Linked DNA regions of Homo sapiens: region 1 is linked to region 2. Evidence: promoter capture Hi-C in human tissues and cell types (Jung and others, 2019). All regions are on one chromosome and are shown on one strand. Each heading gives the region's core, a stretch centred on a gene start or on the middle of the fragment in contact. The rest is flanking DNA. Distances are from core to core; before and after follow the strand shown. Region 1 overlaps LOC107985383 (a long non-coding RNA gene). Region 2 holds the start of CST9 (cystatin 9).

Evidence for each region. Contacts are between HindIII fragments. The study calls those that stand out against the background at their distance.
Region 1: a fragment that was not itself captured here is called in contact with the fragment with the promoter of CST9 in region 2 in 2 of the 25 tissues and cell types used here (heart left ventricle and thymus).

Annotation. Positions count from the first base shown.
Region 1 is chr20:23,671,324-23,678,927 of GRCh38, forward strand. LOC107985383 (a long non-coding RNA gene) reads left to right here. Exons shown (of 5, transcript XR_001754712.2): 4 at 2,087-2,208; 5 at 2,813-3,547. Among named protein-coding and RNA genes, the nearest start is that of CST4, 14 kb to the right of the region's middle. The HindIII fragment of the contact is 5,616 bases long and covers 1,815-7,430 here.
Region 2 is chr20:23,601,522-23,608,743 of GRCh38, forward strand. It overlaps CST9 (cystatin 9), which reads right to left and starts at 4,396. Exons shown (of 2, transcript NM_001008693.3): 1 at 4,089-4,396; 2 at 889-2,213. The coding sequence starts at 4,343. The coding sequence ends at 1,989. RefSeq lists an enhancer at 845-1,346. The HindIII fragment of the contact is 5,555 bases long and covers 1,895-7,222 here.

The DNA of each region.
Region 1 (7,604 bases), core at 3,373-5,872, 70 kb after region 2:
ATATGGAACTTGACACTTATTCACACCCACGTGTCTTGGCCCAGACTCCCTGTTTTGGAATTCCCTTCCCCTATGTCACCTCATTGATTCCTCTTCAACTTTTGTGATTCCACAGAAATTACATTCTCCATAAAGATGACTGTCTAGATCGGGCTACCCAGAGGGAGTCCTTGTAATCAGAATTCAATTGCAAGTGGCTTATTTGGAAGGCAATCCCTGGGTACACTACTAGGACAGTGAGGAAATGAAACAGGGATGAGAAGGTGGTCAATACTATGAGTGTGAGCTGTCAGGCTACTGACTGCTATGTGGCTCATTTCTGCTGGGAACGTCTGGCAGATTGTGTTTGACGTGTCAGGTGGTGTCAGTCGTTGCTGGAGACTGTGCCAGGGAATTAGTTATCTTGCACTTACTTGGGCTATTTGTACAGGTAAATGGTTACAGATGCTGGCAAATGGAAAGTGGGCTGATTGATGCTGAGGTAGAAAGGACCCAGGAATGTAGGCAGCTTGTCCTCCTCCCCTAGCCTCTCTATGGGTTTGGTGCCTTGCTCTGTGCTCTCCAGTGCCCTATTCTCTCCTCTGATTTCCACTTCCCTGTCTAGCAGACCTGACACCCATTGATGGTGGAAGACTCAGATCTTCCTCCTCGAGTTATCCAGCACCCAATCGAGTGTCTACCACAGAGCACATGCTCAATAATACAGGAGGAGGACACAATTAGGCCCATTTTATGACAAGTCTGAAAATTTTCCATAAATCTTTGTTTAGCAACTTTAATTTATGGACAAATCCTCTTGAGTAATTAAAAGAGAAACATTTTATAAAAGTTGCAGAAACAGAAAGCAAATAGCTTTATGTCATTTAAAAAAAATCACACAGAAAAGTGAAAATGTCTATAAAAGAAATGAGAGACAAGGAAAATTGTAATCATTAGCTTGGAGGCCCAAAAGTAAAATAAGGTAAAGGTGAAAATGAATCACTGGTGCTATGAAGCTCATTCCCTTCCATGGAACAAGGAATTGGGTAAGAGAGGCAACCCAACACCACATGCCAGCACCCAGGCAGTTCCAAGTGGGTTCAGGGCAAAATAATCTTGGCATCTTGGTGAACTTGGTGGGTGAAAACACAAATGATCATCAAGGTACTCTGCCTAGGTGATGCTTTACTGCCCGAAGCTGGGTAAAATGTTTTTCTGTGTACTTTAAGGCATTTTTAGGATACTGTATACATATATATATATATATATATATATTTTTTTTTTTTTCGAGACGGAGTCTCACTGTGTCATCCAGGCTGCAGTACAGTGGCGCGATCTCTCAGTGCAGTGGCGCGATTTCCGCCTCCTGGATTCAAGTGATTCTCCTGCCTCAGCCTTCCAAGTAGCTGGGACTGCAGGTATGCGCTACCATGCCTGGCTAATTTTTGAATTTTTAGTAGAGACATGGTTTCACTACGTTGGCCAGGCTGGTCTCAAACTCCTGACATCAAGTGATCCACCTGCCTTGGCCTCCCAAAGTGCTGGGATTATAGGCGTGAGCCATCCCCCCTGTGAGGTCACTATATTTTATTATACTTCTATTATTTGGTTTCAGGTCCACTATGTCCAAAATGTCTGGGGAAGCAGAGGTGGTGAGCAGGGACAAAGTGGGATCTGAGCTGTGCTCTTGCTTGCCTGGTACCCCGGTGCTGTGGGCAGCACAGACATCTGCCTGGTGTGATTGAGTGGGCATTTGTGGTAGTCATTAGGGCTGTCCCTTGAGTGCTTCTGTTTCTTATGGGTACAAGACAGGATTGTCCTTCCCCTTCCTTTGAGTTTGTTGTAGTCATGACCTGCTTTGGTCAATATAATAGAAGAATAAGTGGCATCTGTTACTTCCAGTTGCACTTGGGGAAAGCTGGTGCTCATTGCCTTGGCCACTGATACCATTGTGAGGGTGTCTTCTCCATCATCTTGGGGTCCAGAGTGAGCACAACATAGTTCAGCACCCCCAACACACATGCAGTGCATCTATACAAATAGCAGTCACAATAATGGAATGGTATGTTGCTGTCTTAAGTCCCTCATACTTTTTTTGTTACCACAGCATAACCCAGCTCATCCTGACTGATGCCACCATTTCAAGAGAAGAGAAATGAGACTGAGAAAGATTAAGATATTTTCTTAAGATTGGACACTGTGTTCCTACCCGTTGTGCTTGCCTTATAGGTATGTGTTCTGGTTTTGACAATCAAGATATAGATAAAATGAGGGCAGAAACATTTGATTATTTACTAAGAGCAAGAGAAGGAGAAAGAGAATTAAACAGAGAGGAAGAAGATATGTAAGGAGGAAAAGCAATAAACTAGGAACCAAGCGCGTGCAATCTTTATAATTTCTTTAGAATTTTCTTCGCTTTTAAAACTTTGTTTTATTTTTGAAAGGGAAGGAGTATCTTCCATTAATTTTATAGGACATCCCATGCTTTTTGTAAAACGGAGTTTTATTTATTTTCCACTAAATACAAATATTTATTGCCTGTCTACTATAGGCTATACTTTGGCCTTTTGTTCTGTATAATTCTCCTCATTTAAAAAGGTATAATTAGTCAACATACATTTCATAGATTTACAGCCAAGTATTGTCTGTATACCTATTGGTTTCACTTTGATCTTCTATATTCAGAAAAAGAAAACAAGAAGAGACTTTAATAACTAATTATAAGATAAACATTAAGAGTCTTGTGTTAGGCTTCTGTGTACACTGTTCAGTTAGTTTTGAAATTATTTTTGTATTCATTCATTCATTCATTTCTCTTAATTCTTTTTTCCAGTCGAAAGAGAATTTATTTAAGCACAGAGATCAAGCAAAAGTGGAGCACAGGACACACTTTCAAGTTGCCTTGGGGACTGCTCTGTAGAACAAAAAAGAAACTCAAGATTTTAAGGAATAAAAAGTACAAATGAAGAGAAGGCATGATTACAAAAGTTGTTGATCAGTAATTCTCATTGGTAGACAGAAATACCAGTGGCTAATGATCGGCTATACATTGTTGAATTATAGGATGTATGGTATTTAAAATATATTTATTTAAAACTAAATTTTTTAAAGATTTTTGATGGGTTTAGGGGTACAGGTGCAGTTGTGTTACATGGATATATTGTGTAGAGGTGAAATCTGAGCTTTTAATGTACAACTACCCAAATAAGATACATTGAACCCGATAGGCAGCATTTCACTTTCACCCTCATTCTATCCTCCCACCGTTTGGAGCCTCCAATGTCTATCATTCAACTCAGTAAGTCCATGTCCATGGTTTAGCGCCCACGTATAAGTGGGAATGTGCAGTTCTTGATTTTCTGTTTCTGAGTCATTTCACTAAGGATAATGCCCTCCAGCTCCATACACATTGCTGCAAAAGTCATAATTTCATTCACTTTTATGGCTGAATAGTATTCCATGGTATATATCTACCAGATTGTTTTATTCAATGATGTGTTGATGGACACTTAGGTTGATTTCACAACTTTGCTATTCTGAATTGTGATACAATAAATATACAAATGCAGAAGGCTTTTTTATATAATGATTTCTTTCTTTTTGGGGGGTACATAGGCAGTAGTGGAATTGCTGGATTGAAGGGTAGTTCTATTTTTAGTTTTCTAGAAATTACCATACTGTTTTCTATAGAGGTCATACTAATTACATACCAACATCTTGTTTTTTGACCTTTTTTGAGACAGGGTCTCCCTCTGTTGCCCAGGCTGAAGTGCAGTGGCATGATCATAGGTCACTGCAGCCCCAACCTCTTGGGCTCAAGGCATCCTCCTGGCTCTGCCTCCTGAGTAGCAAGGACTGCAGGCCCACACCACCACACCTGGATATTTTTTTTTTCTTGTTTGTTGAGACAAGGTCTCACTATGTTGCCGAGGCTTATCTTGAATGCCTGAGCTCAAGTGATCCACCCACCTCAGCCTCTCAAAATACTGTGATGACAAGCATGAACCACTGCACTTGGCTATTTTTTGACTCCTTAATAACAGCCATTGTGACTAGTATAAGATGGTATGGCATTGTGGCTTTAATTTTCATTTCTCTGATATTTAATTATGTTAAGCATTTTCATAAGTTTGCCATTTGTATGTCTTTTATTTAAAAATGTCTGTTCATACCCTATGCCCACTTTTTAATGGGGTTATTCTTGTTTTTCTCGTTGAGTTGTTTGAGTTCCTTGTAGAGTCTGGAAATTAGCTCTTTGTCAGACACACCGTTGGCAAATCTTTTCTCCCATTCTGTAGGTTGTTTGTTTACTGATAATTATTTCTTTCGCTGTGCAGAAGCTTTTTAGTTTTATTAAATCCCATTTCTCTGTTTTGGTTTTTGTTGTATTTTACTTTGAGGACTTCATCAGAAATTCTTTGCCTAGATCAATAGTTAGAAGAGTTTTTCCTAGGTTGTCTTCTAAGATTTTTATAGTTTCAGTTCTTACATTTAAGTCTTTAATCCACCTTGAGTTAATTTTTGTATGTGATGGAAGGTAAGAGGCCAGTTTCATGAATCTACATATGGCTCAGCAATTATCCCAGCACCATTTATTGAATAGAATGTGATTTCCCTTTATATAATTTTGTCAAGTTTGTCAGAAATCAGTTGACTGTAGCTGTGTGGCTTTATTTTTCAGTATGTGTCTATTTCTATAACATGACCGTGCTGTTTTGGTTACTACAGCCTTGCAATATAATATGATATCTCCAATTTTATTCTCTTTGCTTAGCATTACTTTGGGTATTCATGATCTTTTCTTGGTTTCATATGAATTTTAGGATTTTTTTTTCTAATTCTATGAAGAATGACATTGGTAGTATGATAGTAATTTAACTGAATCTGTAGATAGCTTGGGCAGTATGGTCATTTTAATGATATTGATTCTCCCAATCTATAAGCATGGGATTTTTAAAATTTCTTTGTGCCATCTATTATTTCTTTCTTCAGGATTTTGTAGTTCTCTTTGTAGAGATCTTTCACCTCCTTGGTTAAATGTGTTTCTAGGTATTTTATTACTTTTTGTAGCTATTATGAATTGGATTGAGTTCTTGATTTTGTTCTCAGCTTGGTCATTATTGTTATGTAGAAATGCTACTGATTTTTGTACATTAATTTTGTATCCTGAAACTTTCATGAAGAAATTTATCAAATCGAAGAGTCTTTGGAAGAATCTCTAGGGTTTTCTAGGTATAAGATCATAACATAAAAGAAAACAGAAAATTTGACTTCCTCTTTTACAATTTGGATGTACTTTATTTCTTTCTTCTGCCTGATTGCTTTAGCTGGAACTTCCGGTAGTATGTTGAATAGGAGTAGTCATAGTGGGTATCCTTGCCTTATTCCTATTCTTAGGGAAAATGCTTTCAACTTTTCTTCATTCAGAATGATGTTGGCGTTGGGTTTGTCATATATGGCATTTATTGTTTTGAGGTATGTTCCTTCTATGCCTAGTTTGGTAAGGGTCTTTGTTATGAAGAGATGCTGCATTTGGTTAAATGCCTTTTCCCGAATCTTTTGATATGATCACATGATTTTTGTTTTTAATTCTGTTTATGTGGTGAATCCTATTTTTTTTATTGTGTCTGTTGAATCAATCTTGCATCTCTGGAATAAAACCCACTCAATCTTTGTGTATTATGTCTTTGATATGCTGCTGGATTTTGTGTGGTAGCATTTTGTTGAAGATTTTTGCTTCTATGTTTATTAGAGATATTGGTTTGTAGTTTTTTGTTGTTGTTGTTTTTGGTTATGTCCTTGTCTATCTTTGGTATCATCGCAATGCTGGCTACATAGAATAGAATAGAGAAGATTCCCTTTTTGGAAAAGTTTCAGTAAGATTGGCAGCAGTTCTGTCTTGTACATCTGATAGAATTTGGCTATGAACTCATCTGGTCCTAGGCTTTTTTGTTGTTGTTGGGAGTTTTTTTTTTTTTTTCTTACTAATTCAATTTTATTACTCATTATTGGTCTGTTCAAAATTTCTTTTTCTTCCTGGTTGAAACTTAGGGGATTGTATATTTCCAGAAATCCATCTATTTCTTCTAGATTTTCTCATTTGATCACATAGCGATGCTCAGAGTAGTCTTTGATAATCTTCTGTATTTCTGTTGTATCAGTTGTAATGACACCTTTATCGCTTCTGCTTGCACTTGTTTGAATCTCCTCTCTTTGTTTGTTGGTTAATCTAGCTAGTGGTCTATTGATTTTGTTGATCTTTTCAAACAACCAACTTCATTTCATTGATTCTTTTTTTTTTTTTTTGGTCTCAATTTCATTTAGTCCTTTTCTGATTTTTATTCTTTTTTTCTTTTTTACTAGCCTTGGGTGTGGTTTGTTTTTTTTCCTCAGGTTTCTTGAGGTATAACCTTAAGTTGCTTATTTGAAATCTTTCTATCTTTTTCATGTAGGCAGTTAATGTTATAAATTTCCCTCTTAGTACTGATTTGGTTGTTTTTAAGACATTTTTGCAATCTATATCTTTATTTTTATTCATTTACTTTTTTTAATGTCGATTTTAATTTCATCATTGGTCCAACAGTCATTCAGAAGCAGATCATTTAATTTTCATGTATTTGTATAGTTTTGAGTATTCCTCTTAGTGTTGATCTGTATGTTTATTTCACTGTGGTTCAAGAAGGTATTTGGTATGATTTCAATTTTTTTACATTTATTGAAATTTTCCTTGTGGCCTAGCATATGGTAAATTTTTGAGAATGTTTTATGCATATACCAGAAGACTGTATATTCTGAAGTTGTAGGGTAGAATATTCTGTAAATATCTGTTAGGTCCATTTGCTCTAGAGTTCAACTTAATTCCAGAATTTTTTGGTTGATTTTCTGCCTCAATAAACTGTCTAGTTCTGTCAGTGAGATATTGAAGTCCCATACAAATACCGTATTGGTATTTATCTCTTTTTTTAGGTGTAGTAGTATTTGTTTTATGAATCTAGGTGTTCTAATGTTTGGTGCAAATGTATTTGGAATTGTTAGATCTTCCCCAATAAATTTCTTTATCATTATATAATTACCTTATTTGTCTCATTTATAGATTTTCCTATTTTTTTCCTTTTTGTTCTCTCTCTGAAATATGTGTGACTCCTAATTTTACATGCTTTTTATATGGTCCCATATTTCTTGAAATGTTTAATCATTAATTTTTTTCCTTTATTTTTGTCTGACTGGGTTAATTTCAAAGACCTACTTTCCACATCTGAAATAATTTCTTCTGCTTTGGTCAAGCCTACTATTGATACTTTTAACTGGATTTCAAAATTTCACCAATACATTTTTTATTTCTAGTAGTTGTTTGGGTTTTTAAAAATCTATCTTTTTTGATACTTGAATAGTATTTCTGATTTATTTTGGTTTTCAATTTTCTCTTGGATTATATTGTGCATTTTTAAAATCGGCATTTTAAATTCTTTATCAAGCATTTCAGAAAAATTATTTTCATGAAGACCCATTGCGGGAGAGTTAGTGTGGTCCTTTTGAGGTATTGTTACACTCTGCTTTTCCATACTTTTGGAATTTTTTCTCTGGTTCCTTCTCATCTGTAAAGCTATCTCTGTTTCTAATTTTTA
Region 2 (7,222 bases), core at 3,146-5,645:
AGGTGCCTGGCGTGGGAGCTGGTAGCATGGTGTGTCTCAGGGGCACCAGGGTCCAGAGGAGCTCTTAGCATCAGAGACTGGTAACTATGGCCTGAGGCCCAAGCAGCTCACTGCCTGTTTGTGTAAATAAACACTTATTGGAACACAACCACTCTTACATGTTTGCACATTGGCTATTGCTCCTTTCAAGATACGACAGCAATTCTGAGTAGCTGAGAGAGACCATCTGCCCACAAAGGCCAGAATAGTTACTCTCTGGCTTCTTCAGAAAATTTTTTTGCCAAACCCTGGTTTAGGTGATTTGGGCAATGTCTTGGTAGCATCTAGTCTGCCCGTGCCTCTCACACTGCATCCCCTGGGGGTGTGCATTCCTGCAAATCCTGCATTTTCAGGGGATTTCTGCATCCCTGGGGATTTGTAAGAGCGCAGATGCATTTTCCAAAGGTCAGAGGCCCTGAAGTTGGACATTTCTAAGATTCTTTCAGAAGATGCTGCTGCTCCAGATGCCAGGACAGCTTTATAAGGGTGAGGCTAGAAGTCCTTCCTCTTCCCACCAACCTTCCACGAACCAGGAAAGGTGTGTGAGCCACCCCTTGAGAACAGAGGCCACATGTGCTGAGTGGGACCCAGAGGCCCTGTCTTGCTCAGTTGTGCACATTGGGTGTCCTGCAAGATCACAGACATTTTACCTCTGGCCACATGGGTCATCATCAGCCACGAGCATGGAGACAGCAGCTCAGACTTATCTTGGTTGTGCCACCTGGAAGCTGGCTTATGAGGTCTTAAGGGAGGGAGGACCCCACTGACACAGATGCAAATAGGCTGCCCTTCTGAGAGGAACTCCATCAACTGCTCAGCCCCCTCCCTCCAGAACATGGCACAGGAAGCTTCTGCAAATGCTGATGTTTAATGACCTATTCTACTTGAGGAACCTGGACAGTGAGGATTTTCTAAAATGCCAAGTCATAAAACCTCAGACACTTGCAAAATAAGAGAACAAATATGCACGGAGCTGCTCAGCCACTGATATGTCAACTCCTGGGAACAGCTGGTGTCCACGGGGGAGGGGGCAGCATGTGGCCAGGCATGTGAGTGGCTTCCACTCAGGAGAGCCCCTCTGAGCAGGTCTTGTTCAGGAGTTCAAAATATGTCTTCCAGGGCATGGTTTCAACAGTGAAGAAGCAGCTGAAGGTCCGAGGGAACAAACAGGAAGAGACAGTAGGGCGGGGTTTGGGGAGGTTCGGGAATCTTGTGGCATCTGCCCTCAACACAGGTTCCATCTCCACCTTGCCCATTCCTGGGGCCAGCAATTGTGCCACGTGGCTCTGGCCTTCAGGTCTAGCCTGAGCCTGAGGCCAATCCTGAACTACAACGTGATTTGAGGCTCCCTCCCTCCTTAGCCAGGGTCACTTGTGCCATGCCTCCTCCTCCAGCCCGTGCCCCTCAGGGGAACCCCAGGCTGTCCTGGTGTGATCCCTGCATCCAAGAGCAGCAGGAGAATGTTTTGTCCCAGTGGAAGCAGTTCCCAGACTTAGGCAATTAGTTACCTATTTGTTAATCTTACAATAAGGGGGTTGACTAAGAATGGGAAGTTTTCCCAGAGCCAGGCTTTGCTTGGAGCTCGTCCCCTAGAGCAGGTGCTGCAGCTCAGCAGGGCCTAGGAGCGAGGGCAGTGGGGCTTCTTCTCAGCCTCCACCACTTTTGGGTCTAGGGCAGGGTAGGGAAACCCTGAGAAAAGTACCCACAGACATTGTCACCATTGTCTCCAGGCTCTTTCTCTAGAAGGCAGGGAAGAAGTGGGGAGGAAGACCAGAGAGAAGGTTCTGAAGGCCATGTGGCCCAGGTGCAGGCAGCTGCAATGGTGTCAGAGGGCAGAATCAGGAAACTCAGATTGGCCAGGGGCCTGAAAGTGAACCCCTGGGCTTAATGCCTCACTGGGCTTCCCACTAAGGCACAAGCAGGGCAGCCTGGTACAGCCTGCTGTGGGCTCACTTCCCTTTGTCCCTCGGAATGGCTTTGTCAGCTGCTCCTGTGCCCACACCACACCCCATGCAGCATCCACAGCTGTGGACCTGAGGAAAGCTGATGCCCTGTCTTACGTTGTTCAGCTCCAGGCTTTCTTGAAAAGGGCAGTTGTCAATGTCATCTTCAAATTTCCTACATACGGTTTGGCGCAGTTGCAGATTCATGGAGAACACCATCTTACCTCGCCACTGTTGGACAAAAGAAGATTAAAGTGGATGCACCGTCTTCCTGCCCCTAAGTAGCTACTAGTGAAGATGCCATTTGAGTAGGAGAGGCCCCAACACTTTACTGCATTTGAGAGCTTGCCCATGGGCCTGGCATCAGCTCACTGGAGGTGAAACCCAGGGGATCTTCTCTAGACTGAGGAGTTAAGAGCAAAAAGCAGGTGGGCATGGTGGGTCTGGGGAGGATGCAGGCTGAGTCAGACCCCACTAACACATTATCCACCTCCACCCACCCCCATTTCCCACGGTGAGACTCCAGCTTCACTCTCAGTAGGCATCTGATCTTGCAGCTGCATTCCCAGAGGACAGAGCCACATGTCCGGGAGGGTGTTGGATCTCCAAGAGTTTTCAGGGTAACTTCAGCCCTGGGACAGAGGGAGCCTCATCTACAGTGTGTTGTCAAACCTTCCAAGTGACCTCCAGCAAGAAGAATGACACACAGCGCTCCCACTACACACAGGCACACACCCTGGGAAAATGGGTTCAAGAAATACCATCTGCCCTATTGCAAAGTGCATGCTGAAGTTCTCCTTGCCCTCCTTCCCACTCCATTCTATTTAATTCCACTCCATAGCCTCCCTCTCACCCATCTATTCTTCCCAGCCCCCAAACTGATGCTGGGATTGCCATATCCAGGAAGCCATGTGGAAAGCTTTTAGGACTTACTGTCATTTAGGACTTATAGACCATAGTAAGGAGCTTAGATTTTATTCTAACGGTATTAAGAATGGAGGCTTACACTGAGGTCTTGGAGAATCAAGCAAAGCACTGGGAAAGCAGAAGCATGAGGCCTGGCCAATCTCAATCTCTGAGACTTCCAAGGTTCCAGCATGAATATTAGCAGCCACCATTACTGGACCAGATGCCCCTCTGAGGGTTGCATCAGGCTTTTAATTCTCCTGAGAGGAGGCAGCAAATGAGCAAGGAGGAAAATTCCTCTGTACCAGCATTGGAATCCTGAGGATGGCAGTGAGGAATCCACCCCAGGAGGCAGAGAACCAGCCAGAGCCTTGCACAGAGTCTTTCCAGAGCTTAAGCTCTGTGCGGTACTAGAGTCCCTCTGCCTTTCTTTCAGGCTCTTGGTGCTGAGAAAGGAAGAGCAATGCTCCTTCTCTCTCTAAACCAGAAGTTCTCCACTAGGAGGGCATTTTAATTGTTCATGCCTGAAGCCCAGATGAACTGTGCATTCCTGACCACATTTAATGATTTCATCAAAAAGGCAAGCATTTTAGGATAAAGGTCCATTGAGGAAGAGTGTAAATTGGCCTTCAGTTCATTAAGTGCAGACAGAGCAAGGAGCCCAGAGAAGGTGGAGATCAGAGAACTAACCTTTCACGGTGGCCTCTCAGGGCTGATGGTGTTCTTTATTGCCCTCGAATTCTCACTGTTCTCTCTCTGTCTGCCTGTCTCTCTCTCTCTCTGTCTCTCTCTCTCTGTCTGTCTGTCTCTCTCTGTCTCTCTCTCTCTCTCCCTCTGTGTGTCCTTGCTTTTCCATTTTCATTTTATGACCTGGAAATGTTTATCAGTCTCTTTGGTTATTTTCTCTTCTTGTCAGCTTCATCTCCTTAGAAGTCCTTATTTTGAAGTCACTCTTCAGTTATACAATGTCTTAAAAATCATGAAGATTGAAAAATATATTTTGCATGTGAATAGACATTTACCTAATTTAAAAAAAATTTTAAGTTCAATGTTTTCCAAAACTAAAACTACCGTAATTGGTTGTGGACTACCTGACTATGGACTGCTGATGGTGAACCAAGTCTCCTAGACTAGACATCTTGGTCCCTCACTTAGGGGCAGATGGAGAAGGACAGGCCAGAAGAGGATGTGGTCACCAACCTTTCTGTCCATGCTATCCTCCCTCCATGAACTCAGGACGCGCAACAGCCTGTAGGCATGCTCCTCCTTGCTCTGCACGTTGAAAGTGTTCAAGGCAAACTCCACTGTGGCGAGGAACATAGGATCCTGGACTATTTTATTATTACCACCCATTTCCTCTTCAGAACACCAGGCATAAGTCACCAGGAGCTGGAAGCCCATGAGAAGCAGTGACAGTGCCCAGGGCATAGCCTTCCTCCTCTGCGGACTCGACATGATGCAGGCTCCAGCAGCCCTTGCCTTTGCCCTTCAGATCCCTGGCGTCCACTGGAGCCTTCCAGGGCTCAGGTCTGGCCTTTAAATTCACCTGCTGGGGCAGAAACTCCTCCCTCCAGGCCTCACCTCTGCAGTTACACCCTGTCTCTCCCACACATGGCCTCCCTTCTTCCAAAGGCGTTTAAATCATCTCCTGTTTAGGGGAGAGGAACAGCACCCAGGCAGGTGGGTTGGAAAAGACTAGCAATGGGAGAGATAGTGCCCTGAACATGAGGCCCAGCCCCAGCTGCCCCAGCACCTCCGCAGGCTAAAGGAGACCTCTACTGGGCGCCCCAGAGTCAGAGCCCGGCACAGGAACACAAGTGTGAGAGGTATGAGTGGAAGGTGAGCCCTGGACTCAGCAGTGGGGGTGGGCTGGGAGGGGGAGGTTAGGTGGAAAGGCAGAGACAAAAGGATGGAAAGGGATGACAGTGGATGCTAGTATCATGGGTGAGCAGGTACAGCGCCCCGAGAAAGCACTGGGCCTCTTGAGAGAGAGGCGGGGAGCCCGGGAGGATTGGCGGGATGTCCTGCAGGTGTCTGCTCCCCCGAGGGTCTCGGGAGGGGGGCACCAGCCTGGGGGTCGTGGGCAGAGGTTGAGGAAATCAAGAGCAGGAGCCCCCAACCCTGTTCTCTGCACCTCCCTAAATGCAGCTTCCCAGCCCAGGGACGCGCTGCCAAGTGCTGGTACTAGGGGCCTGGCTAGTTATGGCTGCCCCTATTCCTCAAAGGTGTTTCCAGGACGGGTGGCCGCTTGCAATTGGAGCAGTGGAGAACCAGAAAGACGAAGATGCCCTCAGGGATGGCTGAAGTGCACCCATTAGGTTGTCACGGGTTCCCTCCTGTGGCCACAGCCGGCACAGCACTCTGCGGCACAGTTTGTGGGTGGAGATTCTGAGTTCTCGACCAAGACCCACATAGCCTCCAACTCCAACCGCAAATGGGGCTCTCAAAAGACTGAATAATGCACTCTTCACAGACCAGACTTAAGCTTTGTCCCTGTGAAATATGCCTTTGATGTTTATCCGTAGCTCCTTGTAAACTTCAGAAGCAACCAGCATCCCCTGATGTCACGTTAAAAAGCAAGTTCCTAGTTTCCCCACCCAAAGATTCTGACCCAGTAGCTGTGAGCAGGGCCAGGGAAACTACATTTCTCACCAGCTTCCAGAGGATGGTTGTGTTCCCGGTCTCAGAACCATACTTTGAGTGGTGCAGGTTCAGAATACTTCCTGGGAAGTGCATACAGACCAAACCACATATGAGAAGTAACTCAGCTTGAGGGGCATGGAGGTCAGGGGATGAGAATGGCTTTTGTGGGGCACACAGGATGGGGGACAGGCTTAGACAGCATGCCTGGTGATAAAGAATAAGAGTTTGTTTCTAGACCCTGTTTGCAAAGAAAAAGCAACTCAATGTGACAATTCCAGGAAAGCAGCCAGATGTGCCAAAAACATCACCCAAGGAGTCTGTATCCTTTCTCTGATGGCGTTGAGTTCACTGGAACTGCAGCTGAAGCGTAACTAATGTGGTTTCTTAGCTGGAGAGTGATGGTGCACGTAGGGGTAGGAAGGGGGTGTCAGTGAGGGCGGAAATGCCTTTGTGGGTTTTGGGATGAGCAGGCCATAAGGTGCTGTGAGAACTAGAATCCTGATGCCTGGAATAGGTTGCGAGTGTCCTGAGAGAGGCCTGCAATGCCCATGGAGGTCACTCTCACCTTGTAAGTTCAGCGGCTGACAAACTTGGGGCATCCTGCCAATTGCCAGTGGCTCCCCCACCATTCTGAGGGCCGATACCCACATGTGCTCCAAGGGAGTGCCCACACTCACTCTTACATGAGCAGTGGTTTAGGGTCCTGGGCACCAGCTCTGTCCTCACTGTGCAGCCAAGGAGGGGACAGGGATCCCCACACCCAGATGTGAGACCACGGGTGTACAGACACCATGGACCCTTACAAGTGTGTCTATTTTCTTGTTGAATCCCCAGTGGCCTGGGATGGCCTCACTTCCCAGGTGGAGAGAGACGGGAATATCAAGACATAGCCAGGTAAAGAGAAATACATGTGGGCTCCAGGCTGAGGAGCCCCGAAGACGTGGGTCAACATGTTGCCGAGGCCAGAGTGAAACCGGACGGCCCGGAGGGGCTGGCTGGCCAGCCCACAGGCACAGCTCACAGCTCTCTGCAGGGCTATCCCCAGGTCTCAGGTCTGGGAGGCTTTCTCTCCTGAGTCCCCTTGCAAGAGTTCTGTCTCACTCAGCTTCTTCCTGGGCACTCGTTGGCCTGTCTGTCTCTGGGGCCACCGGGACTTGTCTGGTGCTCTCTTTGTGTTGCTGGCACTGGCACCGAACACCCATGTGGTCTCATAGGAAGGTCCCAGTAACTCCTCACTGAAATGGACCTGCTTTTCCAGAAACGAGGCCCTGTATTTCTGAACGCATTCCTTTGAATGATTAGAGAATGCTGGCAACGACCAGGACCAAGCCACTGGCCCTTTTCTGTGAAGCTGAACATGAGGCGGTGGACGAGGGGAAGCCCAGTGACTCTTCGGGACACAGGACGCTCTCCCCAGCTCCCGCAGACCCTCCAGCTGAGTGCTCTCCCCGGGGTCGGACTCATGTCCCTCACTGCCCGGCCTACTCAGCCACATGCTCTAAAGGTCCCGTGCGACCTTGCTCACTGCCTGTTTCAAGCTGGGCCAGGCTCAGCGGGGCCTGCCAGTTTCAGGATCGCCTGCTGGGCTTTGGGATCACTTCCTCGGGACCCTCCCCATTCCCCCTGCTTGGCATTTCCCTAGGAGACTCCCCAGACAAGCCAGCATTCCCAGGGGTTTCCGTGTGCTGGAA